Regions from separate parts of the Homo sapiens genome. Here region 2 is linked to region 1. Evidence: promoter capture Hi-C in 16 types of primary human blood cells and fetal thymus (Javierre and others, 2016). All regions are on one chromosome and are shown on one strand. The core of a region is centred on a gene start or on the middle of the fragment in contact, and the rest is flanking DNA. Distances in the headings are between cores, read along the strand shown.

Evidence for each region. Contacts are between HindIII fragments. The CHiCAGO score rates a contact against its expected background, and 5 or more counts as called.
Region 2: a contact is called between a fragment that was not itself captured here and the fragment with the promoter of NKAIN1 in region 1, in 1 of 17 cell types (naive B cells). The highest score is 5.0, in naive B cells.

What each region holds. Positions count from the first base shown.
Region 1 is chr1:31,235,915-31,242,663 of GRCh38, forward strand. It overlaps NKAIN1 (sodium/potassium transporting ATPase interacting 1), which reads right to left and starts at 3,973. Exons shown (of 7, transcript NM_024522.3): 1 at 3,580-3,973. The coding sequence starts at 3,633. The HindIII fragment of the contact is 17,944 bases long and covers 1-6,749 here.
Region 2 is chr1:31,535,944-31,542,982 of GRCh38, forward strand. No RefSeq gene overlaps it. Among named protein-coding and RNA genes, the nearest start is that of LINC01226, 21 kb to the left of the region's middle. The HindIII fragment of the contact is 204 bases long and covers 4,775-4,978 here.

The sequences.
Region 1 (6,749 bases), core at 2,723-5,222:
CCTGGATATGTTTGGGCTACAGTGCCACAGACACATCCCATGATATGAATCATTAAGATAATAACAATAAGCTACAGTTTAATGAGTACTCACTCTGTACCTGCCAGAGTGCTAAATTCATTATATGGACTGAGTCCTCACAACAACCCTAAGGATTAGGAACTGTTTTATATTCTCTCTATTTAACAGATGACAAAACTATGTGGCTCAGAGACGGTAAGCAACTTGCCCAAAATTGCATAGCCAGGAAGTGACAGAACCAGGTCTAAAAGCCAGGTCTGTCCTGTCAAACTTCAGAGCCTTAACTACTATCCTACACTTATCCATCTGAAAGGCACAGTCCCTACCTGCTTCCCTTAAACCCCATGGCACCCTCACACCTCACTCCCTCACCCAAATCACATCTATCCCAACTGAGGAAGAATGTTTCGAATTGGCCTGATTCATTGTAACGATTAAACTCCATTTGAGAAAGAAAAATGACACAGTTCCTCCTAAGTTTTCAGCTGAAAGATATTTAACAGCCTCTTTTTTCCCTTCAGTCCCTTGGATGAGAAAACCAAGACTCCCTTCTCCCCTCAGGCTGGTGAATTCCAACATCCCGGGGCACATTATGGAAGCTATCAGGCAGTAGGGGCTCATGGAGGTTAGTGACAACTGGAGGGCCCACTCTGCAATGAGCCCAGATAGTGCAACAGAGCCAAGAGAGCAATTTTCAAGTTCCTCCCGCAAATGATCTTGTGCAACCTTCACAAGCTGCCCAAAGCCACCCAGCCGGGATGTGGGAGAAACCAGAATGCCACCCAGGTCTCATCTAACTCAAGCCTCTAGTGCTGGTGAGCTCCTCTAAGTGGAAGAGTGGGGTTAGCTTAGCAAGGGAGAACTATGGAGGAAGGGAAGTGGGAGGCAGAGAGACACTCTACCACCTTCATTTCTCTCTAGAGCCATGAGCTCCTTCCATGGGGCCCCAGACTTACCAGGGCCAGAACTACTTATTTTATAATTAAGAAGGCAACAGAGGACCTGGCCAACTGCCTGGATTCAAAGCCTGGATCCTGGCTGGATGTGGTGGCTCATGCCTATAATCCCAGCACTTGGGAGGCTGAAGTGGGAGGATGGCTTGACCACAGGAGTTTGAGACCAGCCTGGGCAACAAGAGTGAGACCCACCTCTAAAACACAAAAAAATTAGCTAGGCATGGTGGTGTGCCCCCGTAGTCCCAGGTACTCAGGAGGCTGAGGTGGGAGGATTGTTTGAGCCTGGGAGGTCAAGGCTGTAGTGAGCTATGATTGCACCACTGCACTCTGTCCTGGATGACAGAGTGAGCCCATGTCTCAAACAAAAACAAAAACAAAACCCCCAAAACAAAGCCTGGGTCCTAGTTCCTGTAGAATTCTGGACAAGTTACTTCATAGGGCTGTTAGGATTAAATGAGTTAATACCTGGAAAAGTGCTTCCAAGAGTACCTGACACTTAGTCAAGGGCTCTCCAAAGCTAACCGTTATTATCGCCAACAGAGAATGAGCATGGGACAAACTGCTAACAGGTTCACCTTTGGGGAGGGGTCTAGTTATAGAGAGAAGAAAACTTTTTTTTTTTTTTTGAGACACAGTTTCACTCTGTCGTCCAGGCTGGAGTGCAGCGGCGTGATCTCATCTCACTGTAACCTCCGCCTCCTGGGTTCAAGTGATTCTCATGTCTCAGCCTCTCGAGTAGCTGGGATTACAGATGCGTGCCACCACCCCTAATTTTTGTATTTTCAGCAGTGATGGGGTTTCTTCATGTTGGCCAGGCTGGTCTCGAACCCCTGACCTCAGGTGATCTGCCCATCTCGCCCTCCCAAAGTGCTGGGGTTACAGGCATAAGCCACGATGCCTGGCCTAGAAAACTTACTTTTTATTTATCTGTCCTGTTTGATTATGTATGTATTTATTTTTTACAATATATGTATATTACTTTTCTAATTAAAAAAAACCCCTAGTTTAAAATTAAAAAATTAACAAACACAGAAGAATCCTCTGAAAGGTTTAAACATTTCTTGGCATTTCATGTTCCTCAAAGTAGATAAAGAAAAACAGACAATCTCTGCCCTTCTGGAGTTCCCATTCCACCTGATCTTAATTAATTCCCTCTGCAATCCTCAGGGATAATCATTTTACAGATAAGAAGACTGAGGCCGGCCAGTGGGGGGAAGTCACTTGTCCAGTCTCCCACAGCTGGGAGCAGGGCTACAATCTCCAGAGCTAGGGCTGTTTCCACCACTGCCCAGGCCAGGTCTGTGGATGGCATGTTTGAAGCTGGTGTCCCCAGGAGGAGAGAAGCAAGACGAATGAGGAGGTCTGCATGTCCAGGCTCAAAACTTCACTCTACATTATCATTGGCTCCTGTGGTGGGGAGGGCGTGATGGATGCAGGCAAGAGTGGAAACCCAGAACAAGGAGTCCAGCATGAGGGGGGCTCAGGCTCCTCGCTGCCCACTCTCAGACCTGGGTTCGGCGATGGAGGTCCCCATGCACCTCTGCCTAGAGGAGAAGCACAGCTTCAACCTCCCTAGTTGTTCAATCTCAGCTCTAGGGTAGGTAGGAGACCCCTGCCTCTCCTTAACCACCCTCCCAAATTCCCCTGCCAGGGCCTGATTTGAAGGGCAGTGCTGTTTCTTCTAGTCCACTACAGTCACTCCTCCCTGAGACAAGAACCTGAGTTCCCTATGCTGGGGCTAGGCACAGTGTCCTCAGATGCTCTGGTCCTCCCTAGGGCACCCAAGTGTCCCCATCCCCACTGTTGCTGGCCCCGGCAGAGGAGCTGCTCTGGTGGGTGGAACTGATGACTGATGGAACCCCCATGGCCACAGCGGCCAGACCAAAGCAGGAAGTGTGGTCCAGGCTGGGTCAGGCTGGCCCAGGATCTGGCAGCTCCTGGTGACCCTCTCCAGGGAGGTGGCTCTCCTTTCCCAGGACTGCCCGGTCAGGAAGGTGAAGGGAGGCAGAAACAACACAAAGGATTGGAGGGTTCTTGGAGTCTAAGATCCCAGAACACAGATGAACATGGGCCAGAAATGGTCAGCGATTTAGAGACACACCAAAGAGAAACCCTGAGAGACACACGCCGGAGCAGAGACTTTGTGAGAAACGCTCACACAGGGGTGGTGATCAGAGGCAGAGACCCAGAGGAAGGGAGAGACCCATGCAAACGAGGGATCTAGAGGGAAACACACAGCAGGACCTCAACGGATCCACAGATCAGCCTCAGACACACCCCCAGTCCCAGCAAGCCACCGTCCCACAGCGCATCCCCCAACAGGAGGCCACTTGTACAGTGCGGGCGGGCCGGGGACTCGCGCACAGGACGCACTTGGGGACCGGAGGAGCGCCGGGCACAGCAGCGAGAAGCGCACACAAAGAGACAGCCCGGCCAGCGGGAGCAGGCTCCGCCCGACCGCTCCGAGACTCCAGACCACCCCCCGCCCGGGCACACGCACCAGACACACACACAGAGACACACGCAACCCCACCCGCACGCCCTGGGACCGCGCCCCGCCGCGCCCCACCCTGCCCCGACTGCCTGGGCACGCGACGCTTACCAGCTGCAGGCAGCAGAAGGCGACCAGCGTGCAGCGCCCGCTGCACTTGCCCATGGCTCCGGGGGCTGCGCGGGCCGCACGCCGCGGCGCCCTTCTTGCTCCGCGGCCGCCGCCTGCTCGCGCCGCGCGGGCTCCACGTCCTCCCCGCTGGGCGCGCCGGGCGGCGGGGCCGGGCGCCTAGGGCCGGGCCCGGGAGTGTCCGGTCCCCAAGGCTGGGGCCGGCCGCCCGCGCTCCGAGTCCATGGTCCGTCCGTCCGCGCGCTGGCCCCGCCGAGCCGCGCCTCCTTTGTCTAGCGGGCCGTCCGTCAGGCGCGCCTCCTGCCCCGGGGCGGCTGGCGGGGAGCGCGGAGCAAGGAGAGCGAGCCCCGAGCGCGGCGCAGCGCAGAGCAGCACTGCCCAGCTGGGGCAGTCGCCCGGGCTCTCGTCGGCCGCGGCTTCCCGGCCCCACCACGTGGCTCCGCCGCCGCCACCGACAGGGAGGGAGTTGGGGGGAACGGCAGAGGGGTGGGGCGGGGGAGCCGCCGGAGGGGAGGGGAGAGGGATAGGGAGGTGGAGGGTTGGAGAGGCAGGGAGTGAAGTGGAAGAGTGCGTGCGGGCTTAGGGGACAACAGCCCTGAGTCAAATCCAGACTTTGCTGCTCACTCGCTGTGTGACCTTGGGCAAATCACGTCACCTCTCTGGACCTGTTTTCTCATGAACAAAGTAGGAATAATTATGCCTCTTTAGTGTAGATATGAAGATGAAATGCAGTCATGTGAATAAAGCGCTTAGCCCTGTGCCTGGCCTCCTGGCTTGGAACACTTTTTTGTCCACCCTGTCTCTAGGGCTCCAGGGTTCCAACTTGGACTTCTAGTTCTATTTACGTTCCCAGATCTGCTCCTCACCCCAGCCTCTCCCCTGAGTGTCTGGCCACATTTTTCGCCTTCCTTCTTTCCGTCTACTGGCATTTATTGAGCCCTGACTGCATACACACCCCTGGGGGCCCTGCGAGCCAGAGATGAGACCTGCAACACTGTTCCAAATCCCGTAGAGCTGCACCGCCCAGGGAACAGATAGGCTCCCAAGAGCACGCCAGTGAGATGGGTGATGGCAGAGATCTGCCCAGGTGGAGGTAGGGAGCCCCTACCCTGGGCTGCAGTAGGGACAGAGTCAGAAGTTTCCCAGCAGAAGATTGCCTTCTCCAAGCCACCCCCAAAAGCCCTCGAACTGGACACATCTCAAATCCACATAATCATTCCTGTCCCACTCCTAACTTCCTATATTCACCTTGGCAATTAGCATCACCCAAGTGGAATTTCCTAGGTCATCCTCCAGGCTTCCCTACAATTACATCTGATCTGTCACTACATTCTATAAACTGTACTTTCCAACTAACATTTATGAAATACCCACTATGTGCCAGGTTCTCTGCTGGGGATAAGGGAACAAAACCCGACAAAATCTCTGCCCTCATTGAGCACACAGTCTAGTGAGGGATTGTCATTAAAACAAGGAAATATACAAATAAATACGCAAAGTTCTGATGAATACTCTAAAGAATATTAAAGAAGAAACGTGGCACGGTGGCTCACACCTGTAATTTCAGCACTTTGGGAGGCTGAATCAGCTCACTGCAACCTCCACCTGAGTGGAGATCGGCCTCCCAAAAGTGAGTGGATCACCTGAGTTCAGGAGTTCGAGACCAGCCTGGCCAACGTGGTGAAACCCCATCTCTACTAAAAATACAAAAATTAGGCAGGGATGGTATCAGGCACCTGTAATCCCAGCTACTCAGGAGGTTGAGGCAGGAGAATCGCTTGAACCCGGGAGGTGGAGGTTGCAGTGAGCCAAGACCATGCTATTGCACTTTAGCCTAGGCGACAAAAGCGAAACTCTGTCAAAATAAATAAATAATAAATAAAATACTAAGGGAGAAAAGAGAGAATGAGAGGGGCATAATTTAGGTTTGGGGACCAGGAAACACCTCTTTGAGGAAACGAAACTGATACTGAGACGACAATAGGAAGGAAGGAGAGGCAGGGGAGTGAAGAGTGTTCTGGTGGAAGAAACAGAAGGTTCTTATTCTTTCCCTTCCTCTCCACTCTCACTAGCCCTCTTGATTCGAGAGACAGGAAGTATGGTAAGATGTAGGTTAGGACCCGTGGTTTTGGACCCAAACGGCCTGGGTCCCGGTTCCAGCACTGTCACTTGTTTGCTGCTCACATAGTAAGCATGCAAATAAATGTGTCACTGTTTTCTTCCAGGACTGGCTACATAGTTTGGGGGGCCCAGCACAAAATGAAGATGCAGCACTTCTTGTTAAAAAATTAAGAATTTCGGCCAGACGCAGTGGCTCATGCCTATAATCCCAGCACTTGGGAGGCCTGGCCAGATGACAAGGTCAGGCGTTCGAGACCAGCCTGACCAACATGGAAAAACCCTGTCTCTACTAAAAATACAAAAAATAATTAGATAGGTGTGGTGGCACATGCCTGTAATTCGCAGCTACTCAGGAGGCTGAAGTGGGAGAATTGCTTGAACCCAGGAGGCAGAGGTTGTGGTGAGCTGAGATCACCCCACTGCACTCCAGCCTGGGGCAACAAGAGCAAAACTCCATCTAAAAAAAAAAAAAAAATTAAGAATTTCAAGATGGCAACACAGCAGAGCGTGAAGTCAAGAACATGCAGGGGGCCGGGCGCTGTGGCTTACGCTATAATCCCAGGACTCTGGGAGGCCAAGGCAGGCGGATCACTTAAGGTCAGGAGTTCAAGATCAACCTAGCCAACATGGCAAAACCCCATCTCTACTAAAAATACAATAATTAGGCCAGGCGTGGTGGCTTATACCTGTAATCCCAGCACTTTGGGAGGCCAAGGCGGGCAGATAATCAGGAGATCGAGACCATCCTGTCCAACATGGTGAAACCCCATCTCTACTAAAATACAAAAAATTATCCAGGCGTGGTGGTGCATGCCTGTAATCCCAGCTACTAGGGAGGTTGGGGCAGGGGAATCGCTTGAACCCAGGAGACGGAGATTGCAGTGATCCAAGGTCACGCCACTGTACTCCAGCCTAGTGACAGAGTGAGACTCCATCTCAAAAAATAAAAATTAAAAAAATACAAAAATTAGCTGGGCGTGGTGGCATGTGCCTGCAATCCCAGCTACTTGGGAGGTTGAGGCATGAGAATT
Region 2 (7,039 bases), core at 3,627-6,126, 300 kb after region 1:
TTTGTCGCACAGGCTGGAGTGCAGTGGCGCGATTTCGGCTCACTGCAAGCTCCGCCTCCTGGGTTCACGCCATTCTCCTGCCTCAGCCTCCCACGCCCAGCTAATTTTTTGTATTTTTAGTAGAGATGGGGTTTCACCGTGTTAGCCAGGATGGTCTGGATCTCGTGATCTGGTGATCCGCCCGCCTCAGCCTCCAAAGTGCTGTACAGGCGTGAGCCACCACGCCGGGCCCAAAAAGCTTTTAAAAAGAAAAACACTCAGCTGATGAAAGAAACCACCGCTCTAACCATGACAATGCTTGGTTGACCTTTTCCTTCCTTTCTAGCAGTTGAGAACAACAAGCAATAACAACCATACGAAGAATCTAGCAAACTCAGACTTTACTTCTCCTTTTCGTGGTCCTGGAAACAGCTCAGAATAAAGTGGATCTGGACCTCTACAGAAGAGAGGGAGCTCCAGATTCCAGGTAACTCACGCCGTTGCACTCAGTGGCTCCTCCGGAGTCCATTTGAACACAATGAGTTCGTGCTGATACCAAGCACCAAGTGCCAAGAATGAGTTCTGGGTGTCTGCGGATCCTGCTGGAATTCTGCCGAGTATGCTATCTGTTGACCCAAAAGGTGAAAGAATAGGCACTATAAACTTAAATCAAAGTTAATGTTATTCTGAGACAAGTTTGAGGACTATAGCCCGGGAACACAGACTCAGTACAAACCCAGAATGCATCCTGTGGTGGGTTCCACGAGGCACAGTATGTGTATGTTTTCTACATAGAAAATGGGAGAAGCACGGCCAGGCGCGGTGGCTCACGCCTGTAATCCCAGCACTTTGGGAGGCCGAGGCGGGCGGATCACGAGGTCAGGAGATTGAGACCATCCTGGCTAACATGGTGAAACCCCATCTCTACTAAAAATAAAAAAAAAAATAATAAAAAATAGCCGGGCGTGGTGGCGGGCACCTGTAGTCCCAGCTACTCGGGAGGCTGAGGCAGGAGAATGGCATGAACCCGGGAGGCCGAGGTTGCAGTGAGCCAAGATCACGCCACTGCACTCCAGCCTGGGCGACAGAGCGAGACTCTGTCTCAAAAAAAAAAAAAAAAAAAAAAAAAGGAAAAGAAAAACAGAAAATGGGAGAAGGGTCAGTGGAGCAAAGGTGGTGTTCTTACAATTTTGATTGGTGTTTGGTGACATTATATATAAGATAAAGCAAAGGTGCAGTTAATGTATATAGGGTAAAAAGTTAATGATTACATAGGTGTCTTAAGGTCTGGTGAGGGATATTTGATTCTATCCTGCTTTTGTGCTTCATGTGATAATCAAGGTTACAGTCAGTAATGCCAGTGAAATATTTTGACAAATGCCAGCCTTGCAGGTGAGACTTCAGCTTTAGTTCATAGGCTTACTTTCTATTACTTAATGTCCAGGCTGCAACCATCTTGGGTGGATTTTTAAACTTTTTCTTTCAGATTTTTCTTTTTCTGACAGACAGATTTTGCATGATCTTATATGTGGAACCTGAACGAAGTTGAACTCATAGAAGCAAGAGTAGAATGGTGGGGAGTAGGGGAAATGGGGAGATATTGGTCAAAGGGCACAATCTTTCAGCTGCACAAGATAAGCCATAAAGAGCTAATGTACAACACAGCAACTACGATTAACAATATCATATTGTACTCTTGAAATTTGTTAAGAGAGTAGAGCTGAAGTGTTCTTTTTTTTTTTGATACGGAGTTTCACTCTTGTTGCCCAGGCTGGAGTGCAATGGCATGATCTTGGCTCACTGCAACCTCCGCCTCCTGGGTTCAAACAATTCTCCTACCTCAGCTTCCACAGTAGCTGGGATTACAGGCATGTGCCACCACATCCAGCTAAGTTTGTATTTTTAGTAGAGACGGGGTTTCTCCATGTTGCTCAAGCTGGTCTCGAACTCCTGACCTCAGGTGACCTACCCACCTCAGCCTCCCAAAGTGCGGGGATTACAGGCGTGACCCACTGCGCCCGGCCTATTTTTTCTTTCAGTCCATTACACACATGAAGTATGCTTGCGGCCCACACCACTGCGCAATTCTTCAAGACTATGTTGTATATTCTTCACTTACATAGAAGACATCTCAGTTTCCAGGACCAGTTCAGGATGTAAAAGTGTGAGTCACTTACCAGTGGCACAGGTCAGAGTATCTCCTTCAAATCCTGGTAACCCAAGAAGAAAAGGGGTCCTCATCCAGGCAAGCTGATTTTCCTAGCATGGTCCCAATTGATAGTGATACTGTGAAGAGACACATTTTGTGCTGTTTTGCTGGCAGTGATACTATACCTACAAAAAGAAGCTCGGTAGTTGTTGTGGTTGTCCGCTGGTATAGCAGCTTTTGTGCAGGGGGAATGATGGGATGAGCTGTCAAGAACATCTGGTGTATAAGGATCCGGTGTTTTCCATGGGTGATGCAAATGGCCTTGGGAACTGGTGATTTAGCTGTTGGACTATCTGAAAAGGTAGGCTTCACCTGTGAAGACTTTACAGGTGCTTGTTGGGATTAGTTTTAGGAGGCCGGTGTCCTGGTGGTCAAGCTGCTAGATGTTAGGACTCCTGCTGGGATCTCAGAAGTTGTTATCCTATGACCAATTTTATATAAACCTTGGAGGATCGCTCCTTCTTTCTTACCTCACACTCAGCTGCCTCACCCAGCTAGCCCTCAGCTCAGCAGCCCTACCCCGACCATTGCAAGGCCACTCTGCCCCACTCCCCTGCCTGATTTCACGGTATTTTACAAAAGTATTAGCTGAGACAGATGGAAATTATTTCATTTTTTTAAGAAGTCATTATAGAAAAGGAAAGTGAAGCACTGACGGGTTAAATCACTTGCCCAAGTTCAGGAAGACAGTAATGCTGTCGTTCACCTAACCTCTGATTTAACAAATGTTTATGAAGAGACTTGTATGCCAGACACCAAGCTCCATGCAGGAACTACTGTGTAAAAAGAAAAAATTATATGGATGTATAATCAATGGATTTTTTTTTCTTTTTTTTGAGACAGGGTCTCCTTCTGTCACCCAGGCTGGAGTGCAGTGGCACAATCACAGCTCACTGCAGCCTTGACCTCCTGGGCTCAAGAGATCCTCCCACCTCAGCCTCTCTAGTAGCTGGGACTACAGGCATGTGACACCACTCCTAGCTAATCTTTTTTATTTTTCATGGAGATGGCGTTTCACCTTGTTGCCCAGGCTGGTCTCGAACTCCTGGGCTCAAGCAATCTGCCCACCTCAGCCTTCCAGAGTGCTGGAATTACAGGAATGAGCCACCATGCCCAGCCTACAGTCAATGAAATATTATTCATTATAAAAAAGAAGGAAGCCCTGTCATTTGCGACAACATAGAACCTTGAGGCCATTATGCTAAGTGAAATATGTCAGACAGAGAAAGACAAGTACTATATAATCTCACTTCTATGTGAGAAACATACAGTGATTCTCACATTATCTGTGGAATCTACATTCTATACCTTAAATTTATATAATTCTATTTGTCATGTATACCTCAATAAAGTTGGGAAAATTATGTACAATTAAATGACTTTTAGTATCTTCACAGAGTTGTGCAATCATCACCACACTCTAATGTTTGATGTTTTTGTCACCCTAGGAAAGAAATCTTATACCCATTTTCTCTCCTCATTTCTTTTCTTTTCTTTTCTTTTTTTTTTTTTTTTTTTTTGAGATGGAGTTTCACTCTTGTTGCCCAGGTTGGAGTGCAATGGCACGATCTCGGCTCACTGCAACCTCCATCTCCCGGGTTCAAGGGATTCTCCTGCCCCAGCCTCCCAAGTAGCTGGGATTACAGGCATGAGCCACCATGCCTGGCTAATTTTGTATTTTTAGTAGAGACAGGGTTTCTCCATGTTGGTCAGGCTGGTCTCAAACTCCTGACCTCAGGTGATCCACCTGCCTTGGCCTCCCAAAGTGCTGGGATTACAGGCGTGAGCCACCACGCCTGGTATCTCCTCATTTCTTTAGGTGTTTAAGAAATCATATCAGCCAGGCATGGTGGCTCACGCCTGTAATCCCAGCACTTCGGGAAGCCGAGGCAGGTAGATCACATGGTCAGGAGATCGAGACCGTCCTGGACAACATGGTGAAACCCCATCTCTACTAAAAATACAAAAGTGAGTTGGATGTGATGGTGTGTGCCTGTAATCCCAGCTACTCAGGAGGCTGAGGCAGGAGAATCGCTTGAACCAGGGAGTCAGAGGTTGCAGTGAGCCGAGATTGAGCCATTGCACTCCTGCCTGGAGGCAGAGTGAGACTCCATCTCCAATAAATAAATAAATAAATAAGAAGCCATATCTAAGAAACCCCTGCCTAACCCAAAGTCATAATGACATACTCTTGTGCTGTCTTCTAAGAGTTTTATGCTTTTAGCTCTTACATTTAGGTCTTGGTTCATTTTGAGTTATCTTTTGCATACGGTGTGAGGTAGGAGTCCAGATTCATTCTTTCACATGTGGAAACCCAGTTGTCCCAGCAATAAACAGTTATTCCTGAAGTATTTATTCAACATTCATTCAGATGGAGGTATGTAGAGGGAGGGTAGATGGCTGGGCCTGTGCTAACAGCACTGGACCTCTCTTTTCTGTCCTCAGCAAGGTTTCTCTGCCCAGACATGCAGGATTTCTTCAGCAAAGCAAAAGCCCTGCAGATTACCAGATCCATCCTCTCCTAAAGCCAGAGGGACCATGAGACATTAGTACCTGAGCATCACCTCTCTCCAAGTGATTTATCAAAGCTTTATTTCCAATCACATACTGAGTTTTGATAAAACAGTTTTATTCTTTGGTTTTCTTCTTCTCCTTTTATTTCCTGTGTGTTTTGAGGCCTCAGCAGTTGAGCTGGTTCACCTTGGAATCTGACTCTGACAAGCAAAAGGAAGCAGAGTCTGATCATCTTTCCAGGTAATACAAGAGTGTTCCTGCAAAGTGAGCCTCTGAAGCTTTGGAGGGGAAGTGTATTAGTCTGTTTTGCGTTGCTACAAAGGAATACCTGAGACTGGGTGATTTATAAAGAGAAGAGGTTTATTTGACCTATGGTTCTGCAAGCTGTACAAGAAGCATGGTGCCAACATCTGCTTCTGGTGAGGACTCAGGAAGCTTCCACTCATGGCTGAAGGCAAAGGGGAAGCCGGCATCACATGGCAAGAGAGGGAGCAAGACAGAGGAGGGGGTGCTTCAGGCTCCTCTAAACAACCAGATCTCGTATGGACTCACAGAGTGAGAACTCACTCATTACTTCAAGGACAGCACCATGACATTCATGAGGGGTGCGCCCACATGACCCAAACACCTCCCACTAGGCCCCACCTCCAACATTGGAGGTCACATTTCAACATGAGATTTGGAGGTGGCAAAACATGCAAACCATACAGGGAGGGAGGAGCAGGGTGGTGGATACAGCTGCACAGACTGGGAAATGGGCCAGAAGCAGCTTTCCGGCTTGTGTAGGTGCTAGGAAAGACAGGCTGGTAAGACACAGAATGCCTTTCGGTCTCCAAGCGTCCAGCATGGTCTAGATCAGATCTGCATATAAGGTCATCTTATCAGAAGGGTTCTTTGAGTTCTGGAAACCACACTCTGCCCCTCCACTTTCACATCTGGAATATCAGGACAATATTTGACATGTAGCATACATCGGTTTTGGAGCCTAGGAAATTCCCACCTACCTTCTTCCACCCACTACACTCCTTTCTGTTCCTCCTGATGCTAGGCTTGTTCCCGCCTCCGAGCCTTCACACTGCTAGCCGTTACCTATGCCTGGAATGCTCTCCCCTGGTGTCTAATCTGCCTGATGCTTCCTCATCCTTCAGGACTGAGTTAAATGTCCCCACCTCAGAGAAGCCTTCGCTGACTGCCTTTGCTCCTCCTGGGCCTGGTTGCCCCTAGACCCACTCTCTGCCCCCCAACACTTAGTTCTATCCTGCAGGAGCACTGGCTTCCAGCAGAGAGCAGCTGCTGGGGACCACTGACAGGAGACTGGGAAGACAAGGAAAAAGCCCTCTCCTCTCTGTCCCAGGTGGCTTCTTAGGTAGCGGCTATGTCTTCATGGTTCCAGCTTCTGCAGAGTGGCGTCCGAACCTGGCTTGGGAAATACCGCTTTTCCTTTTGCCCCTCCGGTCCAGGCATGATTGCAGCAATTCAGTCACTTGTCCGGGTTCCACTCCTAATTCTAGTTCTTTTGCTATTTTCACCACATCTGCAGTGACTTCTCCCACTGAAGTCTTTAACACTTCAAAGGCATCCTTGAGGGTTAAAGTCAACTTCTTTCAAACTCCTGTTAATCTTGATATTTTGACCTCTTCCCTGGAATCACAAATGTCCTTAACGGCACAAGAATGGTGACTCCTTTCTAGAATGTTTCCAATTTGCTTTGCCCAGATCCATCAGAGGATCTCTCTGTAGCAGCTATAGCCTTACAAATTGTATTTCTTAAATAATAAGACTTGAAAGTTGAAATGACTCCTTAATCTATGGGCTGCAGAATGGATGCTGTGTTAGCAGGCATGAAAACAACTTAATCTCTTTGTACATCTCCATCAGGACTCTTGAGTAACCAGGTGCATTGTCAATGAGCTGTAATATTTTTAAGGGAATCTTTTTTTTTCTGAGTAGTAGGTCTCAACAGTGGACATAAAATATTCAGTCAACCATGCTGTAAATAGATGTGCTGTCATCAGGCTTTGTTGTTGCATTTATACAGCATAGGCAGAGTAGATTTAGCATAATTCTTAAGGGCCTAGGATTTTTGGAATAATAAACTAGCATTGGCTTCCACTTAAAGTCACCAACTACATTAGCCCCTAACAAGAGGGTCATTTAGTTATTTGAAGCTTTGAAGCCAGGCATTGACTTCTCTCTAGTGATGAAAGTTCTAGATAACATCCTGTTCCAATAGAAGGCTGTTTTGCCTACACTGAAAATCTGTTGTTTAGTGTAGCAACCTTCATCAATGATCTTAGCTAGATCTTCTGGATGACGTGCTGCAACTTTTATATCAGC